Regions from separate parts of the Homo sapiens genome. Here region 2 is linked to region 1. The links are contacts of gene promoters, found by promoter capture Hi-C in human tissues and cell types (Jung and others, 2019). All regions are on one chromosome and are shown on one strand. The core of a region is centred on a gene start or on the middle of the fragment in contact, and the rest is flanking DNA. Distances in the headings are between cores, read along the strand shown. Region 1 holds the start of KLHL42 (kelch like family member 42). Region 2 has its middle 190 kb from the start of FAR2.

The links. The method cuts DNA at HindIII sites, captures the fragments that hold promoters and counts their contacts. A contact is called where the count stands out against the background at its distance.
Region 2: a contact is called between a fragment that was not itself captured here and the fragment with the promoter of KLHL42 in region 1, in 1 of the 25 tissues and cell types used here (dorsolateral prefrontal cortex).

What each region holds. Positions count from the first base shown.
Region 1 is chr12:27,778,541-27,781,786 of GRCh38, reverse strand. It overlaps KLHL42 (kelch like family member 42), which reads right to left and starts at 1,554. Exons shown (of 3, transcript NM_020782.2): 1 at 585-1,554. The coding sequence starts at 1,456. MANSC4 (MANSC domain containing 4) reads left to right here and starts at 1,551. Exons shown (of 4, transcript NM_001146221.5): 1 at 1,551-1,577. RefSeq lists an enhancer at 1,038-1,537 and silencers at 1,403-1,712, 1,733-1,952. The HindIII fragment of the contact is 9,315 bases long and covers 1-3,246 here.
Region 2 is chr12:28,959,577-28,963,010 of GRCh38, reverse strand. No RefSeq gene overlaps it. Among named protein-coding and RNA genes, the nearest start is that of FAR2, 190 kb to the left of the region's middle. The HindIII fragment of the contact is 4,562 bases long and covers 1-3,434 here.

The DNA.
Region 1 (3,246 bases), core at 305-2,804:
TGGGTCATGACGATGGCTGTCCAGGGAAGGAAGCAAAAGAGAGGATAAAAAATAAGAAAAGCAACCCCTATTGCAAACGTTAATACATTTCCAGTGATTATCTCTTGATCATGATGGGTATCACAGTGTGGAAGACTCTGTTGTCACAGTCACTGACATCAGAAAAAAATCCCCCAAAGTCAGTGTTACAGGTTACTGTCCAGTGTATCATTATCATCAGGATCAAATCCTAAAAACTAAGACAAATTTTTTAAAAATTAAGGGGCAATTTTCTTTTAAAGTATTCTTGTAGGAAACCACAACATCTTTTTTCACAAGAACAGAGGCAAAGAAAGCAGTTTCACCTAAAGGCACAATACCTGCCAAAAAACCACTCCACTTCTTGACCTCACTGGGGACGTCCTCTTCGCAATTTCTTAGTTCATTGGGAATTTTGCCAGCGCCAAGGCCAACAACATTCCTGAAGATGTCATTTCCACCACAGCACACCCTCCCCTATTTACTGGCTCAGTAAACACTGGGGTAATGAACTAATGAACAAGTGAATGAATGAGAAGGCAGCAGCACTCTGCCGGGGTGCTTACCTCTTCTGGTTCATGGAGGCCACCTGGAGCCACTCGTTGGTGCTGGGGTTGTAGGAATGCGCAGCGGAGATCTCCTGGCTAGTGATCCTGTACCCGCCCACTATGAAGAGGTAGTTGTCCAGGATGGCAGACCCATAGCCCCTGACATTGACCAGGTCGGGAGGAAGGTTGTTGGCCAGCGGGAACCAACGCTCAGTCATCTCCTCGTACCTGAGCATGGACGGGGGCTCCCCCTGGTAGGGGTGAGGGGCCAGGGGTCCCCCCAGGAAGTCCCCGAGGGCCACGAGGACAGGAGTCCCAGTCATCCGGGCCTCCCTCAGCCTCTGCTTCAGGCTGACATCCCCTGGAGCTTGGGGAGGAGACCCCAGGAGGTGGAACTGGGGCTTGCACAGCACCTCGTGGAAGTGGACGACCATGAAGCGCAGGCAGGCCTCCTGCAGGTCGGGCAGCCCGTACACCTGCGCCAGGCGGTACATCTCCAGGCAGTTATTGAGCCGCACCTGGGACAGCAGCAGCTGCAGCAGGGACGTGACCTGCAGGAAGGAGGCCGCCTCCACCAGCTCGGACAGCAGGCTCACCTCATCCATCTCCTCGTCCTCGTCCACCCCGCCGCCCTTTTCCCCGCGCGGGCCCAGGAGCCAGCCTTCGCGGGCCCCGCCGGCGTTGATGAAGTCCAGCACCAGCCGCAGGCCCGGCGCGCTGAGGCCGCGCAGCTGCTGCACCTCCGGGCCGCCGGCCTCCTGGCTCAGGGCCTCGCGCATGCCGGAGCGGTAGAGGGCGCGGAAGTAGTCGCTCTGCTCGATGAGCTTCCTCTTGCTCACCGGGTAGCAGCGGTCCTCCAGGCGGATCTGCACCATCTCCTCGGCCGACATGGCTGGGGGCCCCGGGGCGGCAGCGCTCACCGCCAGATCTGCGCGCCGGCCTCCCAGCCCCTACGCGCGCGCCGGTTCCGGGCGGGGCGCCGAGGGATGGCGGCCCGGGAGGAGCGGCGAGGTGAGGGCCGCCCGCGCTCGCCCGGCCTCTCCGGCGGCCCCTCCTCCCGGGGCCCGCTCCCGCGAGGCGGCGGCCCTGCCCTTCTCCTTTCCCTCAGCGCCAAAAAAGGGCCGGCGGAGCGCGGCGGGCGTCCTCGCGCGGGCTCTCCCGGGCGGCGCCAGGCGGGAAGGGAATTCCAGCTCCCAGCCAGCAGCCTCCTCCCCCGCCGCCCTTCTCACTTCCGCCCGCGGGACCCCAGCCGCCGGCCTGACCTGCCGGCTGGATCCGGCTCTCGGGGAGGCCCGGGAAGCTGCGGGCCCGGGCGCCTCGGCTGCGGACGCGCAGCTGCGGGAGGCGGAGGGCGCGCGTCCCCGCAGCCTCTCCGCCCGCCCGGGGCGCGCCGGCTCCGCCGCTTGTTGGGGGCTGCAGTGATGCTCCGGGGTACCCCAGGGAGAAGAAATTCGTTTTCTCTCCCACGCTGCTTTACACGGGCTAAAGAAAAAGAAATGAGCGTGGGAGGAAAGGGAAGGATGGAGTCTCTGGTCCAGGGAGACAAAAAGGCATCAAATATGGGGTCGTCCTTCTGGCCCAGTCCGGCATCGAGTGTCAGTGGGCTGAGGCACGCAGGCGATCTATGGACAGTTGGTGGCAATGTTGGTGGCACGTAGAGCTGATTCTCTGGTAGCGTGGTCGCGTAGGAGCCATCTTACAGGAGGTCCAGGCAGATGGCAGCAGGTTCTCAGAGGAATCGGGTTGGGAGGCAGGGGAGCTTGCATTTGCCACTGGGGCCCCTTATTCTCCCTAAGTTATTAAAAGAAAGATGAAAGCGCAGCCCGACTAAATAAAGTTACATCACGTGGCTTCTGGTTTTAAACCATGTTTTCTATGAGCCATTGCTTTTCTACTTCAGTCCAGTCCATTACGGAATGTTATCCTGGCGCAAAAGATCTGACAAAATTGGCTCATAAATGTCTGCAAGAAGTAGCTTTTCTTGTCACCCCCTTTCTCCACCTACCCTGCCCCCATCATCTGAGGACTATTAAGAGAGACCACACGTGCGGTTTGGCTGAGCGCGGTGGCTCACGCCTGTAATCCCATGACTTTGGGAAGCCCAGGTGGGCAGATCACGAGGTCAGGAGTTCGAGAGCACCATGGCCAACATGGTGAAACCCCGTCTCTACTAAAAATACAAAAATTAGCCGGGCGTGGTGGCACGCGCCTGTGATCCCAGCTACTCGGGAGGCTGAGGCAGGAGAATTGCTGGAACCCGGGAGGCGGAGGTTGCAGTGAGCCGAGATCGCGCCACTGCACTCCAGCCTGGGCGACAGAGCGAGACGCCGTCTCGGAAAAGAGAGACCACTTGTTTCCTATGTTCTCTCACTGAACATTGCAATTAGAAGGCCCACCCCAAATAATAATAGGAAGGACTTTTTGTCTTGCTAATGAATTCATCCCAGGAAGGGGGTGGGGGGAGAAATATATTGTTTGGATTATCTTTGGGTAGGAGAAGGGAGAAGGATTGGGAGGAAGCAGAGGGTGTGTTCACTCTTATCTTACAAAACAAAAACAGAAAACCTTGAAAACTTACCCCAAACCAAGATTTGAGAACCACCTATGATAAACAGTCCTTAACTTGGAGAGAATATGTGTTTGGTTTTTTTTTTTATTATTACAAGCTTCAGCTTTCTTC
Region 2 (3,434 bases), core at 662-3,161, 1.2 Mb before region 1:
TCAAATTATTTTGGCATTTTACAGATCAGCCTAGTGGTCTTTGAGAAAATAATGAATATCTACTAAGTGCATAGCATTGTATTAGACATCGTAGAAAATGCCTTCAAAACAGAAAGAGATTACAACAGAATAATTGGTACTGGGAGTTATCATCTAAAAATTGCCAAAGAATATGAAAATCTCATGACTTGGGCATGTAATTCTCATAAGAAAGAGAAAGACAGAGTTGGTCAAGAGAGGTGAGGTCTGGAGAGGGAGACTTTGGGGTGAAATGAAGAAGTTGGGTTGGAATGAACTGGGAAAAGGCGAATCCTCAAAGATTAGACTCAACAGCTTTACCTATAGTCACAATATTCATTGTCACAATCAGATTTTTTCCCTCCGCTTCCCTAAGATTTCTCTTGAGTTTTCCTTTGTAGCACCAGGGATAGTGATGGTCTCATGTTCCTCTTGAGAGTGGTTTACGGTAAAACTCAAAATCTATATTTCTCAAAGTTTTAGGAGCAGAAACTATCTAAATTCAAAGAGATTCATTATACGTTTATTTCTAATATAGTGCATGTTCAAATTTTGTAGGTCAGGCATAGAGCATGTTATTCTTTTCTTTAGCCCTCCCAATATTGGTTATTTTGGCTGTTTTTGGTCAGATAGGATCCCCTGAGCAAGTTTACTCAGTATGCAAATATCCATTGTAACAACATTTCCGTTATTCTGTAATCAGCCTTTTTTTCTCCCTCTGGGTATTGAGTTCATTGACCTCAAAGGTAACTAGTTTCAGAAGATTTAAGACAGAAAAATTTCCATTAAGTTTTTGGGTTCTTGCCCACATGCTGTACAGCAGGAAAAGGAAAGCAATATAATCCAACTTCAGAGCCTGGAAACACTGGACTGAACTTGCCCCTACCACACAGCATTGGGATGGCATGAATGGGATCATTTAAAGATTTGGCAGTCAAACTGGAGGTCTTAATGTCACCATGACTCAAGTTTAGGAAGAGATAAAAGAGGTTTTAGTAAAGGAAAAAGACAATGAAACAAAACAGTGTGTGTCATCTCTCTTTTGACCAATAAATCAGTTTTTTTCCTACTGTTACCGTGAAGTCTATCTTCTGGCCGATACATAGTAATATCTGACTCTCATTTTGGCAAAGTAAGTAAGCAGATTTCCCCCTTCTTTTGTTTTCAGATATGTTAGAAAAGCCAAGAAATTTCAAAAGAAATAGTGGTCTCCCTCCTTATGACGGACAAAGAAAAGAGTAAATTACAGCCCAGGGCTTTCTGATCTCCTCAGCAAACAATATTAGAGAGACAAAAGTACATTTCTCAAAGAAGTACAAACCTCAATCCCTCTATCTGTATTATGAGAAGTGCTTTTAAAATAAACTCTTATTACCATCTAGAATGTATAGTTATTTGAAAAAAAATCATCTTTAAGACACATTCACAAATAAAAAAGATAAAATCTAACTTGCAAACATACAATGTATATGCATGATAAACTTGTAAATATAATTTATCCCAAATGAGAAAGATCATCATGATACAAAGATTTTTCAAGTTATTTCATATTGTAATATTTCATCATGATATAGATTTATATAATTACCCACATCTTCCTCCACTCTCTTCCTCTGTGTATAGGGGATGGAGAGAAGAAATAAGGACTAATAAACTCTAAATGTTAAAGACTTATTTATTTATGTTTTTAATTTTTAATTTTTGTGGGTACATAGTAAGTGTATATATTATAAGGTACATGAGATGTTTTGATACAGGCATGCAATGTGAAATAAGCACATCATGGAGAATGGGGTATCCATCCCCTCAAGTATTTATCCATTGAGTTGCAAACAATCCAATTACACTATTTAAGTTACTTTAAAATGTATAATTATTATTGACTACAGTTACCCTGTTGTGCTATCAAATAATTATTTTATTTTTTAAAAAAGTTATTTCAAAAGATTCTTATTTATTGAAGTTCTTAGGTTTATTAAAAGGCTACATATATCAGTTTGATTAATGACTAGAAGAAATGTATTACAGCATCTGGGGTGTGGGGATAGAACAGTAGAAAAGGCGATAACAAATGCAAAATACTTTTGTACAATAATCAAAAGCTGGGAGACTAATAAGCTACCTCTATCATGTATCTATCCTTTAGGCCATTGTTCTGCCCAAGTACATAGTTTACTCTTGGCAACAACATAACACACTACTAATTTTTCCTGGTTTGTCCTACTCTGGCTCCACTATACCAGACTAATTTCATTTTGTCTTCTGGTTGGCCCATATGTTCATTCTTACAGATTTATCTTTCCAACGTCTTTGCATAAGTCATGCCTTTCCTCCTCCAGTGGGCTTCACTGATGTTACTCACAACCAACCTGGAACACCCCTCCTTCAACCTTCTATCTTAGCTTTACAGATATTTAAACATTCAACCCAAGTTTCTTCTTGAAAGCTTCTTCAGTTTTTATACCACTTGGATTACCTAATTTTTATTGAATTTCAAAGTGTCTGGATTGCACAATTTGTTCCTTAGCTATTTTCTAATTCTTTCAAAGTGTGTTAGCTAGTTTGACTTCTAGGCTATACTATTAAATTGCCAAAATAAGAAAATATGCCTCGAATTTCTACTGTAATTAACATGGCTCTTTGTAGTTCTGTACTAAATTTGATGTTGCATAAATGTTGGAAGGTAATTGACTTAACTTCACCTATCTGAGAAAGATGCATGTAAAATCTCCAAACTATTTCAGACATCTTCATGAAATGGTCTTATTGCATCAGAACAGAAGGAATAATATTAAATGGTTGGGGTGGGCTGGGGGTAAATGAACCTAGAGAGGAAGGGATAGAGAGCATATACTATACCTCATCTTATTTAATCTTTCCTCTGAATCTGGTATTATAGCCACCATTTTAAGGATGAAGAAACTGACATTCAGACAGGTTATATAGCTTGCTCGAGTTTATAAGGCAAGCAAGGGGCAGAAGCAAGATTTGAACCACAGTTTTTTGACTCAAAGCCCAGGTTCTTTCTATCACCTCTATAAACAGCTTCCTCAATAGGGTGTCATAATATAGACCTTTAAGGAAATATGCATCAATTATATAATTAAAACTGAAATAATTTGGAAAGAAAATACAAGGTATTTCTTTCCATCTATATTAAGCCCAAGGGAATATTGAGAGAGTGTAAAAAGTCAAAGAAAGCTTTATGTATAGATGGGAGCTTGATCTAGAATTTATAAAGTTAGAGGAGGGAAAGGAAATAGGAAGAATAAGTGAGGAAGGGAAATGTTGGTATATGTGGAGATGATAGAATGGAAGATAGAATCTAAGGTGAAGAACAGAGTTTGAAGTTGGTGTATCAGTCAGTTTTGCTACAATGTTGCTGTGTACCAAACAAGCCCTAGATCTTAGCGGCT